Linked DNA regions of Homo sapiens: region 1 is linked to region 2. The links are contacts of gene promoters, found by promoter capture Hi-C in blood cells and fetal thymus (Javierre and others, 2016). All regions are on one chromosome and are shown on one strand. The core of a region is centred on a gene start or on the middle of the fragment in contact, and the rest is flanking DNA. Distances in the headings are between cores, read along the strand shown.

What was found. Contacts are between HindIII fragments. The CHiCAGO score rates a contact against its expected background, and 5 or more counts as called.
Region 1: a contact is called between a fragment that was not itself captured here and the fragment with the promoter of CREBBP in region 2, in 2 of 17 cell types (endothelial precursors and M0 macrophages). The highest score is 7.0, in endothelial precursors.

Annotation. Positions count from the first base shown.
Region 1 is chr16:3,743,633-3,750,461 of GRCh38, reverse strand. CREBBP (CREB binding lysine acetyltransferase) reads left to right here. Exons shown (of 31, transcript NM_004380.3): 21 at 779-835; 22 at 5,108-5,185; 23 at 5,501-5,568. Among named protein-coding and RNA genes, the nearest start is that of TRAP1, 30 kb to the right of the region's middle. The HindIII fragment of the contact is 665 bases long and covers 4,921-5,585 here.
Region 2 is chr16:3,878,164-3,886,060 of GRCh38, reverse strand. It overlaps CREBBP (CREB binding lysine acetyltransferase), which reads left to right and starts at 5,348. Exons shown (of 31, transcript NM_004380.3): 1 at 5,348-6,229. The coding sequence starts at 6,145. RefSeq lists silencers at 4,873-5,422, 5,443-5,492, 5,830-6,139, 6,180-6,229, 6,310-6,359 and an enhancer at 5,093-5,669. The HindIII fragment of the contact is 11,013 bases long and covers 1-7,880 here.

The DNA.
Region 1 (6,829 bases), core at 4,004-6,503, 140 kb after region 2:
AGTCTTCCATGATTCCTACCACCCTACCACAGTGTGACTTCCCCAACAGAAAGGAAGGGTTTGCCACAGGAGCTTCTTCCAGCAGTGTAGGCACTTACGCTCTACCATTTTCTTTGTTCAAATGCAGAAAAAACCTAACTTGTAAGACAAACAAACCAAAGTGACTGAAATTCTACATTTTCAATTTATTTCCCTTGTCATCCTAATTCTCTTTAGTCTAGTTGTGTGATTAATAATTGGATTGTTGCCTGAGCAACATAGTGAGACCCCATCTCTACAAAAAATTAAAAAAACTTAACAGGGCGTGGTGGTTTGTACCTGTAGTCCCAGCTACTCAGAACCGGGGTGAGTTTGAGTTCAGCCTTGGCAACATAATGAGACCCTCATCTCCACAAAAAATCAAAAAATTAGCCAGTCCTGGTGGTGCATGCCTATAGTCCCAGCTACCCAGGAGGATCACTTGAGCCTAGGAGGTTAAGGCTGCAGTGAGCCATGGTCACGCCACTGCACTCCAGCCTGGGCAACAGAGCAAGACCTTGTCTCTGAAAAAACAGAAGGAAAAGAAATGATAGTGGAATATGTAGAAAAAGACATTGTAGTGTTCTACGAAATTAAATTTTCTGTTCATTCCGTTATTACATGTACTTGAGATTTTAAGGGGCCATCATGTCTTTTTGTTTGAAGAACTAGTTACAAAATAACATTCCAGAGACCCTATAGTTTATACTCAACAGATAAATTTTAGTTAATAAAACATGTTTTCTTATTTTAAAACAAGGACAATTTCAAAGGATCAGTTTGAAAAGAAGAAAAATGATACCTTAGACCCCGAACCGTAAGTATATAGCTATTTCTTTTTTACTTTCAGTTTTGGTTTGAAATCGGTAAAGTTACTCCTTATGGAGTGGGTTGTGGGTAAAAACATTGGAAATATGTTGCCGTAAGTGGAATTTCTGGTGTGAGGTTATCTTTTAGATATAGATTTCTTTTAAACTTAAACAAAATATGTATGTCTCTGTAACATGTACTCTAGTTACTGGATTTTAACAATGATAAGATTAAATGGATGTTTTAGTTCTATGAGAACCTCTCTAATAATTTGGTCATGGGTGTCTTTAAGAAGCCATTTAGCATGAATCTTTAGAGACCAAAGGTTAGGAGTATTTGGTGGGGTAGTACTAGTAGTATCGTTTAAAGGGAAATACCAGAAAGAAAACCTCTTGGAAACTGCTTTCTCAAATAATGTAAAGCTTGGCACATTTTCTTGCCATTGTTAAGCACTTTTTTTGTTGTTGTTTTTGTTTTGTTTTGTTTTTTGAGACAGTCTCGCTCTGTCCCCGAGGCTGGAGTGCAGTGGCACGATCTCGGCTCACTGCAGGCTCCGCCTCCCGGGTTCACGCCATTCTCCTGCCTCAGCCTCCCGAGTAGCTGGGACTACAGGCGCCCACCACCACGCCTGGCTAATTTTTTGTATTTTTAGTAGAGACGGGGTTTCACTGTGTTAGCCAGGATGGTCTCGATCTCCTGACCTCAGGTGATGTGCCTGTCTCGGCCTCCCAAAGTGCTGGGATTCCAGGCGTGAGCCACCGCGCCCGGCCCTGTTAAGCACTTTTCTACAGTGATGAGTGAGAGTGCTGCATTTGCTAACCTTGCTTCATAACAGCCCCTAAAGAGACTTCAGATTTTTTTCAGTGTGGTAGCCTCTTCCCAGGTCCCCAATGTAAAGTTCTGAGGGCGCTCCAAATTGGCATGGCGATACTGGCTATTTTTTGTCCCCAGGGTGAGCACAGGCTCCAGGAGCGTTGGCTACTTGGGAAGTGTGGGCTGTGACTCAGCCAAGGCAAGAAACAGACCCTGCTCTCCCTATCCTGACCCTCTCCAGGGAAGCCAGTGGCTAGAGTGGCAAGCACAGATTTCTACCCAGGCCACCTCTGGAAACCTAGCTTGACTTTTGGCAGGTTACTTCATCTCTACCAGCACATGGTACACAGACAGGACGATGATGTGAAATCCTAGAGCTGTAGTCTTGGCGAGATGCCAGGGCAGAGCGCCCACCCCTCTCATGACCATCGGATTGTTTTTCCTGACTTTCCACCTTTCTTTTCACATTGTGTCTTTCTCTCCTTGGCTTTATAGTTTCATTATTATTTATATCTACTTTTCTTTCCTTTTTTTTTTTCCCCCTGAGACAAGTCTTGCTCTGTCCCCCAGGCTGGAGTGCAGTGGCGCGATCTCGGCTCACTGCAGCCTCCGCCTCCCAGATTCAAGCAATTCTCTGCCTTGGCCTCCCAAGTGGCTGGGATTACAGGTGCCCGCCACCACGCCCAGCTAACTTATGTATGTATGTATGTATGTATTTATTTTTATTTTTGAGATGGAGTTTCACTCTTGTTGCCCAGGCTGGAGTGCAATGGCACAATCTCAGCTCACCGCAACCTCCGTCTCCCGGGTTCAAGCGATTCTCCTGCCTCAGCCTCCCGAGTAGCTGGGATTACAGGCATGTGCCACCACACCTGGCTAATTTTTTTGTATTTTTAGTAGAGACGGGGTTTCACCATGTTAGCCAGGATGGTCTCGATCTCCTGACCTCGTGGTCCACCCGCCTCGGCCTCTCAAGGTGCTGGGATTACAGGTGTGAGCCACCGCACCCAGCCTGTATTTTTAGTAGAGACGAGGTTTCACCATCTTGACCAGGCTGGTCTTGAACTCCTGACCTCGTGATCCACCCACCTCGGCCTCCCAAAGTGCTGGGATTACAGGCGTGAGCCACCGTGCCCGGCCAATTTATATCTACTTTTCAACTTCAAAATATATTACATTCAAGTAGTAGGTGCCAGGCAGAGGGAACACATGGATGAGTGAAGGGGTCTCCTTCCTGCTGGTTGTAGTCTAGAGAGACAGCTGGGTAATGGCACAGCCTGCAGCAGGAGACAGTACAAGTGAGTCCCAGACAGAAGGGACCCTGCTTGGGCAGAGCGGCATCACCACAGTTGCGCCTGGTTTCCTGGACAAGATGACATTTACATTGAAGCTGCAGAGCATTCTAGAAACAAAGGCATGAAAGAACACAGGTTGCTCAATAAAACTACAAGGCCCCTAGAGTGGGTGGTTGGTAGGCAGAGGTTAACTTCATGAAGGGCCATTACACTGTCTCTTGACGTTTAGACTTTATCCTATAATGTGCTGAGGAGGTTTTGAAGAATAGCACTGGTTCTAGTGTAAGAGGGTCATCTTTGGTCTATGAGGTGAACTGAACAGAAGAGGAGAAGACATTGTTCTGTAGTAGAGAAGTTAGTTAAGAGACACAAAGCAGGAGAAGGCAAGAAACTGAAACACCAATTAAAGCAAGAGCTTTTGGAGCCAGGCAGGGGGGCTTGCTGGGGGACTGAGGGAAGGGGAGACATCTAGTTGGCCCATAATAATTGGGAGTGGGAGAAAGGGGGAAATTCAAAATGGATGTCATGGGGTCTAGAATATGCAGTGTGTTTTGTTTGTTTGGATTTTGTTTGTTGTTTTTGAAACAGGGTCTTGCTGTGTCACCCAGGCTGGAGTGCAGTGGTGCAGTCATAGCTCACTGCAGCCACAACCTCCCAGACCCAAGCAGTCCTCCCAGCTCAGCCTTCTAAGTAACTGGGACTACAGGCACACACCACCATGCCCAGCTAATTTTTAAATTTTTTGTAGAAATGGGGTCTCCCTATTTTACCCAGGCTGGTCTCAAACTCCCAGTAAAGCAATCCTTCCACCCCAGCCTCTCCACATGCTAGGATTACAGGTGTGAGCCACTGCACCTGTCCCCAGTGTAGTTTTGGGGGACACTCCTTTCCCCTGACATGGGAGGGAAGAGTTGAGAGCAGGGGACCTTTGGAGACGGCACAGGAATTGAGGAAGTTCTTGGCCCCAACCTTTGAAATTCTTAGCGTTGGGGATGAGCTCAGTGGCTGAGTTGTCAAAGACAGAGCTTGTGGAGGATAAGCACTGGAGGAAAGGAGTGCAGATTCAGAGCAGCTGCCACGTGGAAGGGAGAGGTAGCCAGACAGAGCCGGGCTGTCAGAGAGTGCCATAGGACCATGAACGGGTGCCGCCATTTGTGTGTGTGTGTTTTTTTTTTCACAGATCTGTGTGTGTGTCTTTTCTTTCCCTCCAGCAGACTGGGCAGAGAAGCCAGATGAGGGTAGACCCATGGCTGAGGGCTTGCATAGCACGTGCAATGGACAGATTAAGGGGACGAGGGCAGGGGCACACTTTAGAGGAGCTGTAGCTCAAAGCTCAGGAGCACACAGGGAATCACATTACTCACCAGTCCCTTCAGCCTATCCTCGGAGGTATGCATTGTGGTGGCAGCAAGGGAGGGAGCTGACAAAAACCCAAGGTCTTGACCTCAAAATGTCATCTTGGCATTTAAGATTCCTGGGTTGAGGCGGTTCCTGGAGGTGACGGAGCCCTGGTGGGCCGTGGTTGTGGGCTGCCGTAGAACAGTGTGGAGGATTCGTGGGGAATGGGTGGTCCATTCTCTCGCTTCACCAGTGTTTACTTGAATAAACCCTTGTCAACTTGCCAGTAGGCCTGACACATTCCACCTTTTGTAACTGACTCAGAACTGGTGTTTTTGTGCCTCGCGCCTAGCGTGGCTGCTCTGAACTGGCCGTGTTTCCCATTAGTATCCTCAACAATTTTAGACTTAAGAGCACATGTTTAGAACTCAAAGTATTGTTCTCTATTTTTTAAGTCAGTTTTGGCATGTGAAATCACCTAGAGAAGGCATTGTTCTTGCAAATGTGTAGCAGTGTCAGAAATACCGGCCTGTGAAATATGTATTTGTCGCAGCAATTTTTAAAAAGTAAAGTTTCCTTTCTGGTTGCAAAGGGAGATTGGGAGAAAAGAGGAATGAAGCGCTTGTACAAACAAAAGAAGAAAGCTTTTTCCTGTAGAAGATATCATACGGATGCATTGTAAAATATAGCTGAATCAGCCAACACACGCATTAATGTCAGCACTACTCAAAGTAACCCAGAGAACAAGGTGTGGACGCACACACAGACTTCTACAAGTGACTCTGGTCTTGTGGTTCCGTGTGCTTTAACAGTGCGCCTTCTTTGCCTCCTAGTTTCGTTGATTGCAAGGAGTGTGGCCGGAAGATGCATCAGATTTGCGTTCTGCACTATGACATCATTTGGCCTTCAGGGTGAGTTGTTTCCCCTGGCCTGGAGGGCAGTTCTGCACAGAGCCAGTGGCGGGGCAGTTGCAGTGGCTACTGCATCTCATTCATTGTTGTCAGCAAGAATTCAGCGATTAAGAGAGATGGCAGTTGGTTCTAAATTTAAGTTCTAAGCGTTTGTCCGCTTTAGGAATTGTGGAATCAAAGCAGTCTGCCTCTTCACTCTTTAATTTTATAATAATGTGATTTAAACTGCCAACAAACTATCTGAATGCTGCATTTTGTTGGTTTGACAATTTACATCATTATATACAGTCTCATCATACCACTATTATTTTGCAGTTTTGTGTGCGACAACTGCTTGAAGAAAACTGGCAGACCTCGAAAAGAAAACAAATTCAGTGCTAAGAGTAAGTTTCGGGAAGCTTTCTGTTTCCTGGACTGCACATTTTAGAAACTTGTAGAAATTGTCCCCATTGTTCTTTGGTTCCTCTCAACACATGGTTCTGAGGTTCGGTTGTCAAAGATTTTCGTTAGTTTTTTCCCCAGTACTTTGTATTTTTCTTGTCTCATCCTTAAGGAGAGCCAGGCCAGTCATGAGGGTAAGAATGCAAGAATGTTCTTCAGGGGCTTCACTGAGAATAGGCAGCACAGCTGTGAGTCCCTGAAGTCTGTGCTTCTCAGAATGGTCATCTCAGCCACGGGGCTGCTGAGCACAGAGCTCAGAGCAGGACTCGCAGCCTTGGGCTGTGGATCTTCATCAAGTGTAAAACATCTCAGTCCACCCTTAAAGGGAATATTTGGCCTGATTGTTATATGAAAGTCAGCATTTATGATCAGCGCATGTTTTAGATGAAAGGTTAGATGTGCAGTAAACTTTGTAAATTCTGAGAAAATTTATCAACAGATTATTCTCAAGTGGTTTAGACCTAAGACCCCTCACCCCTCGTGCGTGCATGTGTGGTGTAATGTTGGCCAGCACTCTCTAACCCTGGGCCCTATGTGGGCTGCCGTGGGTCTGTCCCGTGGGTGCTGGCTTCTGCTACAGTGGGGTATGAGCCATGGCCTCTGGGAACCAGCCACCACCCCAGGAGCGGTAGGAGCCTGGCCTGCATGTGGACTTGGCTGGACATGTTACTGCAGCTGGTGGTGCCTGTGCAGAAATAGAAGGAACAACCTGTTACTGCTAGAAGTAACTTTGCATGAGTAGACTTTCTTTTTTTTTTAATTTGAGACATTCTCGCTCTGTCGCCAGGCTGGAGTGCAGTGGTGCAATCTCAGCTCACTGCAACCTCCACCTCCTGGGTTCAAGCGATTCTCCTGCCTCAGCCTCCCGAGTAGCTGGGACTACAGGCGCCCGCCACCTTGCCCAGCTAATTTTTGTATTTTTAGTAGAGACGGGTTTCACCATGTTGGCCAGGACGGTCTCAATCTCTTGACCTTGTGATCCGCCCGCCTCGGCCTCCCAAAGTGCTGGGATTACAGCCATTAGCCACCGCGCCCGGCTGACTTTTTTTTTTAAGACCACATTGCATTGTTATCAAAAGTTTATGGTTATTTAATCTTTATAGAGTCAATTCTCAAGTCTTGGGATGGCCTTCTGCAGCTTGACGCGCCAGGCTGGCCTTTTGCCGAGTTAACCAGCAAACCCACACAAGAACGGCAACTGCA
Region 2 (7,897 bases), core at 4,099-6,598:
ACAGGCGCTGGAGAGGATGTGGAGAAATAGGAATGCTTTTACACTGTTGGTGGGACTGTAAACTAGTTCAACCATTGTGGAAGTCAGTGTGGCCATTCCTCAGGGATCTAGAACTAGAAATACCATTTGACCCAGCCATCCCATTACTGGGTATACACCCAAAGGACTATAAATCATGCTGCTATAAAGACACATGCACACATATGTTTACTGCGGCTTTATTCACAACAGCAAAGACTTGGAACCAACCCAAATGTCCAACAATGATACACTGGATTAAGAAAATGTGGCACATATACACCATGGAATACTATGCAGCCATAAAAAATGATGAGTTCATGTCCTTTGTAGGGACATGGATGAAATTGGAAATCATCATTCTCAGTAAACTATCGCAAGAACAAAAAACCAAACGCCGCATATTCTCACTCATAGGTGGGAATTGAACAATGAGAACACAAGGACACAGGAAGGGGAACATCACACTCTGGGGACTGTTGTGGGGTGGGAGGAGGGGGGAGGGATAGCATTAGGAGATATACCTAACGCTAAATGACGAGTAAATGGGTGCAGCACACCAGCATGGCACATGTATAGATATGTAACTAACCTGCACATTGTGCACATGTACCCTAACACTTAAAGTATAATTAAAAAAAAAAAAAAGCAACAGCAAGTCCCCCACGAGAGGGGCGGGTGCAGCCTCCCATGTGGACGGCAGAGAGAGGAGAGGGGCCTCTCACCCTTGAGCGCCTGCTTCCCACTGCCCCAAATAGCAGCTATATGGTGCCTTGGTGTGCCAGGGACCCTGTGCACCCTCCATCTCATCTCCACCGCACCTCAACTGTCTCAGCAGGTGAGGAGGTATTTGTTTTTTTTTTTCTTTTTTTGTTTTTTTGAGATGGAGTTTTGCTCCTGTTACCGAGGCTAGAGTGCAATGGTGCAATCTTGGCTCACCACAACCTCCGCCTCCTGGGTTCAGGCAATTATCCTGCCTCAGCCTCCCGAGTAGCTGGGATTACAGGCATGCACCTCCAAGGCCGGCTAATTTTGTATTTTTAGTAGAGATGGAGTTTCTCCATGTTGGTCAGGCAGGTCTCGAACTCCCAACCTCAGGTGATCTGCCCGCCTTGGCCTCCTAAAGTGCTGGGATTACAGGTGTGAGCCACCACACCTGGCCGAGGTATTTGTTTTCAAAACAGCTAAGAAAAAGCAGTAGGTTTGGGACTTGAACCTAGCTCTGTCTGGATCCCTCCACACCACCAGACCACATTCTGCCTTCTGTCCACCAGGAACTGGCTGGAATCCTGCCTTCCTGGGACTACTCCCCCAGGCCTCTGCCCCCCAACCCCGGGACTCCCACCCCTGGGGGATCAGTTATTATGATTTTGTGCTATTCTGACTTGGATTCTCTGCTTATCTTTTCAATGTGTGTCCTGTTTGTGTTTTTCTCCCCAATGCTGTTCTGCATCGCTTGAAGGCAAAGTCCAAACCTGATGCTATCTTTTAATCTATTTAAGCCTAGAAAGGGACAATCAATATCAAATTGCAACAATTCCATTTCTTTTTTTTTTTTTTTTTTTTTTTGTGAGACGAAGTTTCATTCTTGTTGCCCAGGCTGGAGTGCGATCTTGGCTCACTGCAACCTCCGCCTCCCGGGTTCAAGCAATTCTGCCTCAGCCTCCCAAGTAGCTGGGATTACAGGTGCCCCCCCACCATGCCCAGCCATTTATTTGTACTTTTAGTAGAGATAGGGTTTCACCTTATTGGCCAGGCTGGTCTCGAACTCCTGACCTCAAGTGATCCACTCACCTTAGCCTCCCAAAGTGCTAGGATTACAGGCGTGAGCCGCCGCATCCAGCCAACAATTCCAATTCCATTTCTTTCTCTTTCTTTTCTTTTCTTTTCTTTTTTTTTAGACAGTATCTCACTGTTGCCCAGACTGGAGTGCAGTGGTTTGATCATAGCTCACTGCAGCCTCAACCTCCTGAGCTCCAGTGATCCTATTGCCTTGGTCTCCCAGGCAGCTGGGACTACAGGTGCATGCCACCACGCCCAGTTCACTTTTTAACATTTTGTTGTAGAGATGAGGGTCTCACTGTTGCCCAGGCTGGTCTCAAACTCCTGGGCTCTAGAGATCCTTCCACCTCGGCCTCCTAAAGTGCCGGGATTACAGGCATGAGCCATCATGCCCAGTCCTTTGATTGTTTTTTAATGTGGTATCTGAGACTGGAGAGGGTGAGGTTTGTGGAAAGAGCAGGAAGCCTTAGGTGTGCACCGGAGTGAAGCCCCTTCGTGGCTGGGTGGCTTGTCCTCCTTTGTGCCTTATTTCTTCATCTGTGAAATGAGGACAATTTTTCCTTCCAGGATTGTAGGAAGTGCTATCCATGGGAGGCATGGCAGAGCGGCCTGGTATCCCTAAGGCACTCACTTGTTGAAGGTGATCCCCAGCTAAGTGAGTGCAGGCAGGAGCCACGCTTCCCTCCTTGCTATTCCCCCATCAGTGTCTGAGCTCAGGGTTCTTTGAGTCAGACTGAAGGGAGAAGAAATCGAAAGGAAAGAAAAAACAGGTATCAGTGAATACCAGAATTGATCAAAATGATACAGGTGAGAACAATGAGACAGAAAAAGGGACTGCAGAGCCGGTATATTTTGAGGGTGGAACATGGTGAGACAGGAAGACTAGGGTCTTTGGAGAGTGAGGACATGGGTTCCAGGCCCAGACTTGCCATGTCCGGGTTATTTACTTCTGAGTCCTTGCGACTGAGTTCCCTTGCTTTCCTCTGTAAAATGGAAACCTGTCAGGGAATGGCTCAAGCTCCTGTGCCCACTTCTGTGTAAACCACTCACCAATGGACCCCTGGGGGGCTGCATGGTGTCTCCACTGCCCCAAGGCAGGCCCTAAGACCTCTAGGTGGCTGGACACCTTGTCCCGTTTGAAGAGTGGCCTGGAGCCACCTCAGGCTGGGGCCCACCCTTTTCAGTGGCCTGAAGGCCTCTAGGACTCAGAGCACCTGACACAGCTCATCACTCATTCAGTTTTACAAACCTACTTCTTCTTGCAGAGCACTGTTTCTGTGACTAAGACACCATCTTTGCCCCGAAGGAGCTCACAGACCCTTGGTGAGACGGACACCCAGAGCATTCAGATACAGGGTGTGGCCTGCCCTGTGCCACTGATACACTTCTTGCCATTCCTGTGCAAACTGACTTCTTGAATACTTCCATTTATGGCTTCCAGGGTGTGCTATTTTAACTCCTTGAATATATGGGGATCTCTTTATGTTTGGCCAAGGGGATTAGCACAGTCTCAATGCCCTTGGGATTCTCAAGAGCTATTTGATGCATAAGTAAAAACATGAACTAATTCGGGGGCAGTGGAGGCGGGGAAGATGGGGCAGGATGTGTTATGTGTTCTCTCACAGAGCCCAGAAGTGATATGGGAGCCGAGGAGTGGGCTAGGAGGGCTTCCTGGAGTAGGTGACATTTGAACTGGGTTCTGGAGGATGAGTTAGAATTTGCCAGGCATGTCTTCTCAGCACAGGGACCAGCATTTGAAAAAAAAAAAAAAAAAGCCTGAATGATGTGAACTGCCTACTGGCCAAGTGGGTGTAGGATGATGATGGTGAAGTGAGCCATGTAAAGTAGAAGAGACAGATTCAAGAGCGGTATCACGGCCCAAGATTTTGAGCAGTACAGGTAAACAGAGAAAAGCAGAACGATCACTCAATCTTGACACTCAAGGACAGTCACCATATGTACATACACCTATGTTTTTAAGAGAATTCATACGTGTTCTTTTTTAAAGAAAGACTATGTAGTGTTTTCTTTTTCTATGTCTGGGATTTTGTTTTGTTTTGTTTTGTTTTTGAGACGGAGTTTCACTCTTGTCGCCCAGGATGGAGTGCAATGGCGAGATCCCGGCTTACTGGCCTCCCCAGTTCAAGTGATTCTCGCATCTCAGCCTCCCGAGTAGCTGGGATTACAGGCGCACGCCGCCACGCCCAGCTAATGTTTGTATTTTTGGTAGAGATGGGGTTTCACCATGTTGGCCAGGCTGGTCTTGAACTCCTGACCTCAGGTGATCTGCCACCGCGCCTGGCCAGGGAGTTGTTTTAAACAGATTTTCTCCCTCTCTTTTCGGGATGTTAACTCTGGTGCTGCGTGGGGAGCAACGTGGAGAGCAAAGAACACTTAAGTGAGTAGCTGCCACCATAGCCACCGGGACAGTGCGGGAGGAGCAGTCTCCCAGGTAAAGACCGTGGGTAGAGGGGCGCGTGGCGGGTGAGAGGGAGGAGTCCGCGCTGACTCACGGGTTTCTGGCTTAGGAAACAGTGGAGCTGCTGATACCTTTATGAGGAAGCCGGGCAAGTTTGGAGGGGCAGATAACTAACTGGGATGGGAACACCTCGGGTATTCGTAGAAGTGTCCCGCGGGCTGTGGTCTCGCGTGGGGGACTCCCCAGGCCCGCACCCCTGTCTGGGGCACCTGCGAGGCGCCAGGCAAGTTGCCTGGGGCGGGGAGTGCGGCCTGAGCGTCCAGGCTTAAGCCCCGATGCGCGGGCCCTTCTCCGCCCAGGCCGGCCCTCGCCACCCCGCTCTCACAGGTGAGGGTGTCTGCCCTGCCGCCTTGGGATGCGAACAGGCGTGAGGCCCCCTCACTCCCTAGTGTCACGAGGTAGGGCGGGACCCGAATCCCGGCCCTGCCACTTCCTGCCTCGACCACTTTGGAGCAGTTGCTCGCCCCCCGCCTCAGTTTCCCCATCCGCCCACCTCGTCGGCAGGACCCAAGGGCGGTCTGTAACCTGCAGAGGCCATTCCACTTCCCTGGCCGGCGGCGAAGGCTAGTGGCGCGGCCTGGGCTGGGGTCGCCCCGACCGTTCCCGACCGACGCCACCTAGGAGGGTCTGGGGAAGGGGACGCGAGGAGCTGGGAACACGCAGCGCCGCCCCAGCGGGACGGGCGGGCCCGGGCTGGCGTCGAATCCGCGCCCGAGAGCCCAGCCCGCGGCCAGGCCGCCGCTCCCGGAGCCCGCTGGGGCCCGGAGCCCCGGCCCTCTACGCCTGGTCGCCATCAGAACAAAAGCTGTGGCTCAGCCCGGAGCCCAGGCGCCCCGCAGGCCTGGCCCGCGCCGGGCCGCCAGCTTCCCTACGCTTGGCGGCCGCGCCTTCAGCCCTTCGGCCCGAGCACGCTCGGCTCTTTCCGCCACGGCCGGCGCAGGTGGAGGGGGCGGGGCGGGGGCCGTGCGTGGTGACGCCGCGGGGGGGTGACGCACCGGCGTGCCCCGCCCCCACCCCCTCCCCGTTCAGGCTCTGGAAAGAGAAGAAAAAAAACTTTCTTTTTTTTTTAATTGAGGAATCAACAGCCGCCATCTTGTCGCGGACCCGACCGGGGCTTCGAGCGCGATCTACTCGGCCCCGCCGGTCCCGGGCCCCACAACCGCCCGCGCACCCCGCTCCGCCCGGCCGGCCCGCTCCGCCCGGCCCTCGGCGCCCGCCCCGGCGGCCCCGCTCGCCTCTCGGCTCGGCCTCCCGGAGCCCGGCGGCGGCGGCGGCGGCAGCGGCGGCGGCGGCGGCGGAACGGGGGGTGGGGGGGCCGCGGCGGCGGCGGCGACCCCGCTCGGCGCATTGTTTTTCCTCACGGCGGCGGCGGCGGCGGGCCGCGGGCCGGGAGCGGAGCCCGGAGCCCCCTCGTCGTCGGGCCGCGAGCGAATTCATTAAGTGGGGCGCGGGGGGGGAGCGAGGCGGCGGCGGCGGCGGCACCATGTTCTCGGGGACTGCCTGAGCCGCCCGGCCGGGCGCCGTCGCTGCCAGCCGGGCCCGGGGGGGCGGCCGGGCCGCCGGGGCGCCCCCACCGCGGAGTGTCGCGCTCGGGAGGCGGGCAGGGGATGAGGGGGCCGCGGCCGGCGGCGGCGGCGGCGGCCGGGGGCGGGCGGTGAGCGCTGCGGGGCGCTGTTGCTGTGGCTGAGATTTGGCCGCCGCCTCCCCCACCCGGCCTGCGCCCTCCCTCTCCCTCGGCGCCCGCCCGCCCGCTCGCGGCCCGCGCTCGCTCCTCTCCCTCGCAGCCGGCAGGGCCCCCGACCCCCGTCCGGGCCCTCGCCGGCCCGGCCGCCCGTGCCCGGGGCTGTTTTCGCGAGCAGGTGAAAATGGCTGAGAACTTGCTGGACGGACCGCCCAACCCCAAAAGAGCCAAACTCAGCTCGCCCGGTTTCTCGGCGAATGACAGCACAGGTGAGGAGGGGGTCCGGGGCGGCGGGGGCCCGGGGCGCGCTGTCACCCCCACCTGAAAGAGAGCGTCCGGGGGTCGTGGTCGCGGATACCGATCGAGCCGGGAGCTCGGAGCAGGCCCCGCAGCCCGTTCCCCTCGCCCCGCGCGGGAGGGTGGAAGTTCGTCGCAGGACTGTCACTGGGCCCGAGTTGGTCAGCACACGCCCGGTGCACTCGGCCTCCCCGCACCCGATCAGCCCTCCTCGCGGGGACCCTAGTGGCACTCCAGGAGGGAAGAAGTAAAGTGCAGCGTGTGGGTTTGTTTGGTAATGTCCTACGCATCCATCCGCGGCCGTGTCCACACGCGTGGCCGTCCAGAGGAATGACAGCGGAGGGTACCTTTGATGCTTAGAGAAAGCAAGATCGCGGCCAAAGGTAGGGCAGTGTGTTTTCTGGATTGGCGACACATTGACCAGGCTGCATTCAGAGGACACTCACAGCAGCCGCCAGCTTGCGAGTTAGAACCGAAGTTTCTTGGAATGAGTGAGTTCCTTGGAAAGATGCTTAGTGCTTATTTTCAAAACTCCTTGTTTTGTGTGTGTGTGTGTGTGTGTGTGTGTGCGCGCGTGTGTGTTTTTAGTCAACTAGTCATTCCATTTTTCAAAACCCAAACTTCGTTAGCAAGATGTCATGAAAGTTGCTGTGGTGTGTTTCATTTCCATGTATAACTTCAAAAGAAAGTTAAACAGCAGGTTTAAGTTCATTTGGGCTGCAATCTCCATTTGAGTTTGTGTTGCTTTCACAGTGTAGATGTACAAAGAATTAAGGAATGTAGGAATTCCAATTTTTCAAAAAAATGGAGCAGGATACTGAATAAATCATCTTTTTGTTTGTTTCCTTTCATTAAACGGCTTCCCTGGAAACTTTCTTAAGTTATCATAGCTGCTTAAGAGAAGTATTTAGTTTTCTATTAATTCAGTAATTCTGGGTCCCACTGCGCTGGTTCATGGTAACATGAACTAGTTGTATTTCCTCTTTTAGAGCTCTCTCCTTTGCCGCAAAAACTTGTGTGCCGCTGCGAACAATTCCATCTCCAGCGCAGCTTGCATTTCTCCAGTAGTCTTGCAGTGGTAGCATCTGAAAATCAGTTTCTAATGAATGAGTCCAAATTGAATTACATCGCTGCCTTCAGATTTGCACTAGACACAGCTGTTCAACTTGTGGAAATAGTTCTGTGACCGACCACTAGCATATTAAAAAAAACTGCTATTGCTGTTGAAACAAAACCTGAATTTTGTGGCTTAAGTTTGAATACAATTCCTGGAATCAAGTTATGATAAGCGACGTTTAATATTAATGTAGAAGTGAAAAGCGATTTTTAAAGATCAATCATAAGGAGATTCTTATCTAGTTAAAATTTGTTAAACAGTGGGGAGGAGTAAATGATGCTCATGGTATATAAAAATCACTAATGCTTTTCTTTTTAGCTGATAAAAGTTGAGTTTGACGTTAATCTTATAAAATGAACTTATTGAAGTGAGAAATTTGGAAACAGTAGTTTAAATGCCGTTGTACTGCAAAACAGATCTCCGTTGCTTCATTAATCTTGCTGTGTTTGAGTAGTCTTCAGTTCTGTGAGACGTAGGTCATACGTGGCGAGTTCAGCTTTGAAGCTTGTCTTCTGAAACTGGT